2 separate regions of the Homo sapiens genome follow, and region 1 is linked to region 2. The links are contacts of gene promoters, found by promoter capture Hi-C in blood cells and fetal thymus (Javierre and others, 2016). All regions are on one chromosome and are shown on one strand. The core of a region is centred on a gene start or on the middle of the fragment in contact, and the rest is flanking DNA. Distances in the headings are between cores, read along the strand shown. Region 1 overlaps LOC100287290 (a long non-coding RNA gene). Region 2 holds the start of LXN (latexin).

Region 1 (3,559 bases), core at 1,056-3,555, 70 kb after region 2:
GTGAAGCATTTAGGACAATGCCTGGCACAAAGTAATGGCTATGTAAGTGACTGCTATTATTATTGTTATTGCCATTAACTTAAAAATTAGATACAATCTTGAAAAAAAGGAAGTCACCTGTGGATTTCTTTTCACAAAAGATGAGAAGGGATAGCAGGGACTGAAACCTGCTGGACCACTAAATAAAATTTCAGCTGTTACTTGTAGCCCCTGTAACCTAATCTTTCATTAGAACTATTTGTAGTTAAGAAAATATGAATCTGTAATCATTTTTGGTCTTCCCCCTTGGCAGAGGTGAGGGTGGGTGAGGTTGGCAAGAAGAATATGGATAATCCAGCCTTGACTATTGAAATCTGATTAACCAAATCTAGGGTGTGACCGAGATGATTGTTATCTCAGAGCTTTGGAACCAGAATGCTGGTGGAGAAAAGGCAGCTGTCCTGGTTCCTTGGGGCTGTATCTTGCATGCTCTGGGGGGAACTCAGCTTTTGTTTAGGTAAAGCCCTGTAAACCTACACATGTACCATGCCATGTTCCTGGGCCCATAATGCCTGTCCTGAAGCCCTTGTAGGAAGGCGCTTAGCTGTCCATAGAAAGAACAGAGCCCCTAATCAATGGAGTGAGCTGTGTTCCCAGAGCATTTGGCTTACTGTTCTCTCCTGTGAAGGTGCTTGGGACTCATTGGGGGAATTCACAGTGTCCTAAATATTGTGCCTATAAGCTACCCGAGGTTTATGTGGCTGTGTTGAGTCCCTAGCGATGGTATTTTGCTTTAGGAGCAAGAGCCAGGGCTTGGAGCCTTCAGCATTATGCCCACAGCCCACCAGACTCTCAGCAGGAAGGCAAAGGTCGCAGTGCAGATGACCCTTGAATCTGGATTTGGGCTGCAATGGAACAGTTAACTAGAGTTTTCTGAATCTATGAGGTTAAAGAAGAAGCCTTTCCAGCTTGAATCTAGTGAGACTGAATTCTTTGGGGATGCGGAACTGGAGATGAGGTTCTTTCTAAAAGAGATGCCACAGAAAACGGGGTGATTGCATTTATTCCTGTCACCAAGGAAAGATTTTACATGGCATAGTTTAGGTAGAAAGATTTCACATGACATAGTTTAGGTAGACACTGACATGGATGTGTTTGGAAGTGTCAACACCCAACGGGATAAGGTAATCAGCCCTGTCTAAGAGAGCTTTCTGATGACAATGATCCATATCTGCACCAGCTACATGTGGCTACCAAGTGCTTAAATTATGGCCAGTGCAGTCTAAGAACAGAATTTTTAATTGTATTTAATTTAAATAGATTTAAATATACATAGCCACATATATTTACATGGTGTCTGATGATAACTGTATCATACAGCACAGTTATAGACAATTGACTTTTCTCTATAGTACTTCGTTTGGGAAGAGAAAGAGCAAGTAACATTTTGTGGAGCTGTGTTTCAGACATGATGCTATATGCTTTCTCTTACAGAATAATCTTGTTTAATCTCCACAAGTTTGAGGACTAAACTGGGTGCCACAGAGAATTAAGTAACTGGTCGAGGTTGTATCAGTAAGAAGGGAGCACGGAACAGATTCAAGCTCAGGTATGGCCCACCCAAGTGCTGCTTGTACATTCCACAATTGGGTAGACTCTGATTTACTTAAGGGTTTCGATTACAGTGGCAAAGTGAATTAAGGGCCAGGAAATGTGGCTTTGTGGTTAGGTAAGTTGAGATTATTTCACTTGAAGAGAAGAATACAGAAGAAGTCACTCAATCTTTAGAACTATATTCAAAGATCATTTCCTTTTTTTTCTTTTTTTTTTCTTGAGATGGAGTCTCACACTGTCACCCGGGCTGGAATGCAGTGGTGTGATCTTGGCTCACCTCCCAGGTTCAAGCGATTCTGCTGCCTCTGCCTCCCGAGCAGCTGGGATTCCAGGTACCCACCACCACACCCAGCTAATTTTTTGTATTTTCAGTAGAGATGGGGTTTCACTATGTTGGCCAGGCTGGTCTTGAACTCCTGACCTCAGGTAATCCGCCTGCCTCGGCCTCCCAAAGTGCTGGGATTACAGGCGTGAGCCATCATGCCTGGCCTCAAAGATCATTTCTTAGAGAAGAACAGCTAGCTGTCTCTGTCACCATTAATGAAAGCTTCATTTTTTTCTGGTTTACCTGGGGGCTATGGAAGAAGTGATAAAGCCTTGTTTCTGACATGGGCATTTCTCCACATCTCAGGGAGCCTGGTTGGACTTCAGGCCCCTGTGAGGCTGACTCTGTAGTCCTGGAGAAACTCAACAGCCAGGAACTTAGGACCATTTGTGTGTGGCATTTGGGCTAACCAGACTGGTGGCTTCTAAAGAAGATGGAAAGCATCACGTTTCCTGTATTTAAATTATTTGGTGATCTCAATACTGGTTGTTAGCCAAAGTACACAATGGAGACAGCCTATTTGCTCTACTACTTTTGATGTAGAAATATTACTAAGCTTGAGCTGATTAATAGAACTGTTACACATTTCTGTGCTCCCCTTACTGGTGGCATGAAATAATTCTTTTAAAACCTGCCATGTGTTCACATTTAAAACTAAAAGTAATTTAGATTACATGGATTTGAGAAGCCCATGTTGACACGTAATTGCCAACAGATGGGCTTTCAAATGTAATGAAGTGAAAATGGTCAGTACCCCATGTGTTGGATTTTGCAATTTTCCAAAGTAAGCTGTCATTTTTGGCATGTCATGCTAGTTAAGAACACAATGTATTTATAGCTCAATTATACATTTTCTGATGAATTTGGCATGGCATTTTGTTTTTCCATCAGTCACTTAAGACAGGACATTTGCCATTCCAAGAATGAATTAACACTCTTCTAAGTGATCTATAAACTGAGATGTAAAATAAATTACAAATTGGGACTGTTTTAGTTTTTCAAGCAAAGGGTGTTTAAATAAAGCTTGAAATCATAAACCTTATTTCCTGTTTGAGAAGATGGTGTATTCATTACAGAGTGAAATAAAGGATTTTAATGTTTTTTTTTTTTTCCGGCAATAATAGTTAGAATCTTACGTTCTTCAAAGAAAATTTCAAAGAAAATTCATAACACTTGTTAATATTTGTATGCCATGAACTTTCTGGAGTGATTGATCTATGCAATTCTGTTTATGACACTGGTGTTCATCAGTGAAATTTGCATAGAGTATGTTATCAAGGCAAACCAAAACCAACTCTTCATACCTCAGGGGAAGGCGTTTTCCCACATGTGGCAGCCTAGATAACAGGACAGTGTGTTAGAAAGCCCTCATTCTATTTTCCCCTCTTCACCATTATTTCTACAGGGTGCACACCAGGGCATATATATAATAGTGAGAGCAAACAGAAGTACTGATAAATCACCTGGCTAATAAATAGACAACACAATCACCTAGATGACTTAGAATACGTGAATACATACAGACAGAGGTTGGTTGATTCCTTGGAGTGTTCTTATGACAGTGCTGATTTGTGTGTGTGGTTAGTTGTTAAAATTTGGTGCTCCTGCAGGGAGGATGATTGGTGCAGGCTTCTGTTCAGC
Region 2 (3,302 bases), core at 709-3,208:
TAAATTTGTTTAATAAGAACATTTTGGCTGGGCTTGGTAGCTCATGCTTGTAATCCTAGCACTTTGGGAGGCAGAGGCAGGAGGATCACAAAAATTAGCCAGGTGTAGTGGCATGCACCTGTGGTCCCAGCTATTTGGGGAGGCTGAGGTGGGAAGATGGCCTGAGCCCGGGAAGTTGAGGCTGCAGTGAGCCATGTTCTGCCACTGCACTTCAGCCTGGGTGATAGAGTGAGACCCTGTCTCAAAGAAAAAAGAAATTTAACTTACTTTTTGTATAATTTCTTCAACAGCAAATTTAAGGTGATACTTATGTCCTCTTCCTGGAATATCCTAAAATTAAGAAAATGTAGTGGAGACAAGAAAATATTATAACAACATTATACTTGCATTGTTAGAAGTATGCATCTCATTTGGTTGGAGGGGCTGGCTGAAGGGGAATGGTGAAAGCCTTAGGTCTTGAAAAAGGCATGTCACCATGAATGTAACATCTAATTTAGCAAGTCCCCTATCAAGTTTATTTTGGATGAAAACAAAAGAGTAGGATAAAAGCATACAAATTGGGCACAATTCACTTTCAATCATCAAAAGACTTTATTTAACCCCTGGATCTGTGATCTTAAAGTCTCTACATAAGAAAGTTTGAAACAGCGTTTAATTCTAAAGATGACAATATCACCTTTGAAAAGATTTTTTCATAAAGCTCAGTGTACCCTCCAAATAATGTTCAATGAATGTGAATTTCATTTTGAGGCAGATTACTGCAAAGCAATTGGAGACTTAATACAATTAAGTATTGTTTTTACTTATACATTAGTGAAACTGCAAAATGATTAACAAATTATATAAGACTAAGAAATGGTATTTCACTTTTAAATCAAGATACAGATTGAAAATTTATACCTAATTCTGTTATCTGGTACAGTTTCAAAATAAGATCTACTGTGTCACCTCTAAAAGACTGTTAGCAGTTAAAATTCTGTCAGATAAATAAGGGATAATCTCAAATCCAGTAGATTTTCGTAAAATGAAAACAAACCTCGTTAGTGATTGCTGAGGCCTTAAACATTTAATTCAAGCCTTTAGCAGAGGGTGCACATCATTTAAGGCAGTCATGTGGTAGCGGTGTTTGGGTGGCTAAAGGCCAGCGTCAGCCCACAGTGCTTTTATTCTTTGACTTTGATTGTCAGTTTCTCTTGCTGTTTGTTTCCCCCTTCATTTTGGTCAAAGGGTCTGATAAGGATTTGTCTTAAAATGTAGGCAATAGAGTCTTGGAAGATGGGAGCTTTTGTTGGTCCAGATCAGAGTAGCAGATGAGAAACGTGGCAGCCTTAGTAGTCTTTTGAATGGTTTCTACAGTTTACACTTAAGGAAAGTGCTGCCCCTTACCTAGAGCGTGTTCCCGTTTTCTTGTAACTGTGTGCGTAAAAACTTTGTCTCTGCCTTAAGGTGAAAACAGTCCCGGGCTGTCTCCAGAGACTGGAGTATAGACATTCCCCCAGAAACCTTAATATCTCAAGACCAGATACCAGCAGTGTGTCCTAAAACAGAAGGTGGGTAGGGGGTGGCACGGAGTGTCTGCACCCAAAGGCTGAGACCGCGGGTGAGTGGAGGGAGCGCAATCCTGAAGCCTCTGCTGTCCACCACCCCCTGCTAAACTCACCTCCATGCTGGCTTGTTTGACCTTCTGCACCTCAAACACCCTGTGCGGGGTCCCCTGCTGGTAGTTGATGTAGTTCTGTGCCACCAAGGCCGCCCTGGAGGCTGGGTAGTTGGTCGGCGGGATTTCCATTCCGGATGAGCAGTGACTTCAGGGCTTGGGCTACTCTGGCTTAACGGGACCAGTAGCAGAGCGCCGCCCGTCCTGCTTGCTGCTGGGTCCGGTTGCCGAGGCGGAAAAGTCGCAAGCTCCTTCAGTCAGTCTTCTTCCTCAGCTCCTTCCGACTCCGGAAGCTGCTGTTTGGGCCCAGGCTCCCTGCATCCGAGAGCCCTGGGCTGACTGCTTCTGAGGCCCCGCCCCACTACTGCCTGCAGCGGGCTTCCTTACTCCGCCTGCTGGTTCCTACTGGAGGAGAGGCCAGCATGCTTGTCAGGCACCAGCAGGTGGAGGTGTGGGGAGGGAGTCAGTGGGCTAGGTTCGCTGGGATTGCATCTTTCGTTTCATTAACCTTTATAGAAGTGCAGGGTGGGGCTTTCGCTGATATAGGACATCTCTGAAGACTCTAGTTTCCTGTCCATGGGAAAAAAGTCTGGTTGCTTCGCTTGCATACTGGAGCACAACTTCCTTATACACCGCATGCAGCGTCCCTGGCAGGGCAAGGTACACAGTACTCCAGGTAGTGATTCGATTCCTTCATTTCCCTTCCCCTTATGAGAGTCCAGGAAGAGGCTTGCTCATCCTCAGCTTTTTGTGGGTTTGGACCAGTTCTGCCCAAATCAAAGTATGAGAATCTGCAAACTATAGTATTAAATTGGGAGATTATGTAATTTGGATCAGGAGAAATAAAAAAATGCACCTGTACCCCTCTCCTTTACTAATCTTAAAATGATAAGTTTTGATGTAACGCCATGCTTCCAACTTGAGTCATTTTGAATATTTTACTTCAAGGATTAAAATAAACTTAAAAACTGAACTTATACAAAGCACTCTCTCTGGTATGTGGTCTACCTCATTGCAATGGGCCTATAAACCTGACTTTGTAGAAGTACAGGTTTATCCTTGGTGGTCTTAGGTTAATTGGGCTAGGATAACTTGGAGATTCTACCAAAGTTTGGCCAAGGTCTTCGCTGCCTGGATTGAGACCTTTTTTTCTTTTCTTTTCTTTTTTTTTTTTTTTTTTTTGAGATGGAATTTCACTCTTGTTGCCTAGGCTGGAGTGCAATGGTGCTATCTCGGCTCACTGCAACGTCCGCCTCCTGGGTTCAAGCAGTTCTCCTGCCTCAGCCTCCAGAGTAGCTGGGATTACAGGTGCCCACCACAATGCCCGGCTAGTTTTTTGTATTTTTAGTAGAGACGGGTTTAGGCTAGGCTGGTCTCAAACTCCTGACCTCAGGTGATCCACCCACCTTAGCCTCCCAAAGTGCTGGGATTACAGGCATAAGCCACCATGCCTGGCCAGGACCTTTAACTTGGTAGTAATGCACACACCCAAGACTCTTGAGGTGTATCTCTTTCTGATTATGTAGATTCTGCAGTAAATCTGGATTCTGGACTTTGGCCTCAGTTTCATGCTTATTATTGTCTCCTGGGATTTGGGGGTTCTGATTGACTTTGCCTTTAAATACCATCTGTCTGCTTGCCCATC

What was found. Contacts are between HindIII fragments. The CHiCAGO score rates a contact against its expected background, and 5 or more counts as called.
Region 1: a contact is called between a fragment that was not itself captured here and the fragment with the promoter of LXN in region 2, in 1 of 17 cell types (erythroblasts). The highest score is 7.6, in erythroblasts.

The regions. Positions count from the first base shown.
Region 1 is chr3:158,740,557-158,744,115 of GRCh38, forward strand. LOC100287290 (a long non-coding RNA gene) reads left to right here. Exons shown (of 5, transcript NR_171782.1): 4 at 1,474-1,588. Among named protein-coding and RNA genes, the nearest start is that of RARRES1, 9.9 kb to the left of the region's middle. The HindIII fragment of the contact is 334 bases long and covers 2,139-2,472 here.
Region 2 is chr3:158,670,690-158,673,991 of GRCh38, forward strand. LXN (latexin) reads right to left here and starts at 1,959. Exons shown (of 6, transcript NM_020169.4): 1 at 1,661-1,959; 2 at 268-330. The coding sequence starts at 1,789. The region is part of intron 13 of GFM1 (G elongation factor mitochondrial 1); the gene reads left to right. RefSeq lists enhancers at 1,176-1,768, 1,283-1,342, 1,769-2,361, 1,783-1,832, 2,143-2,332. The HindIII fragment of the contact is 4,555 bases long and covers 1-3,302 here.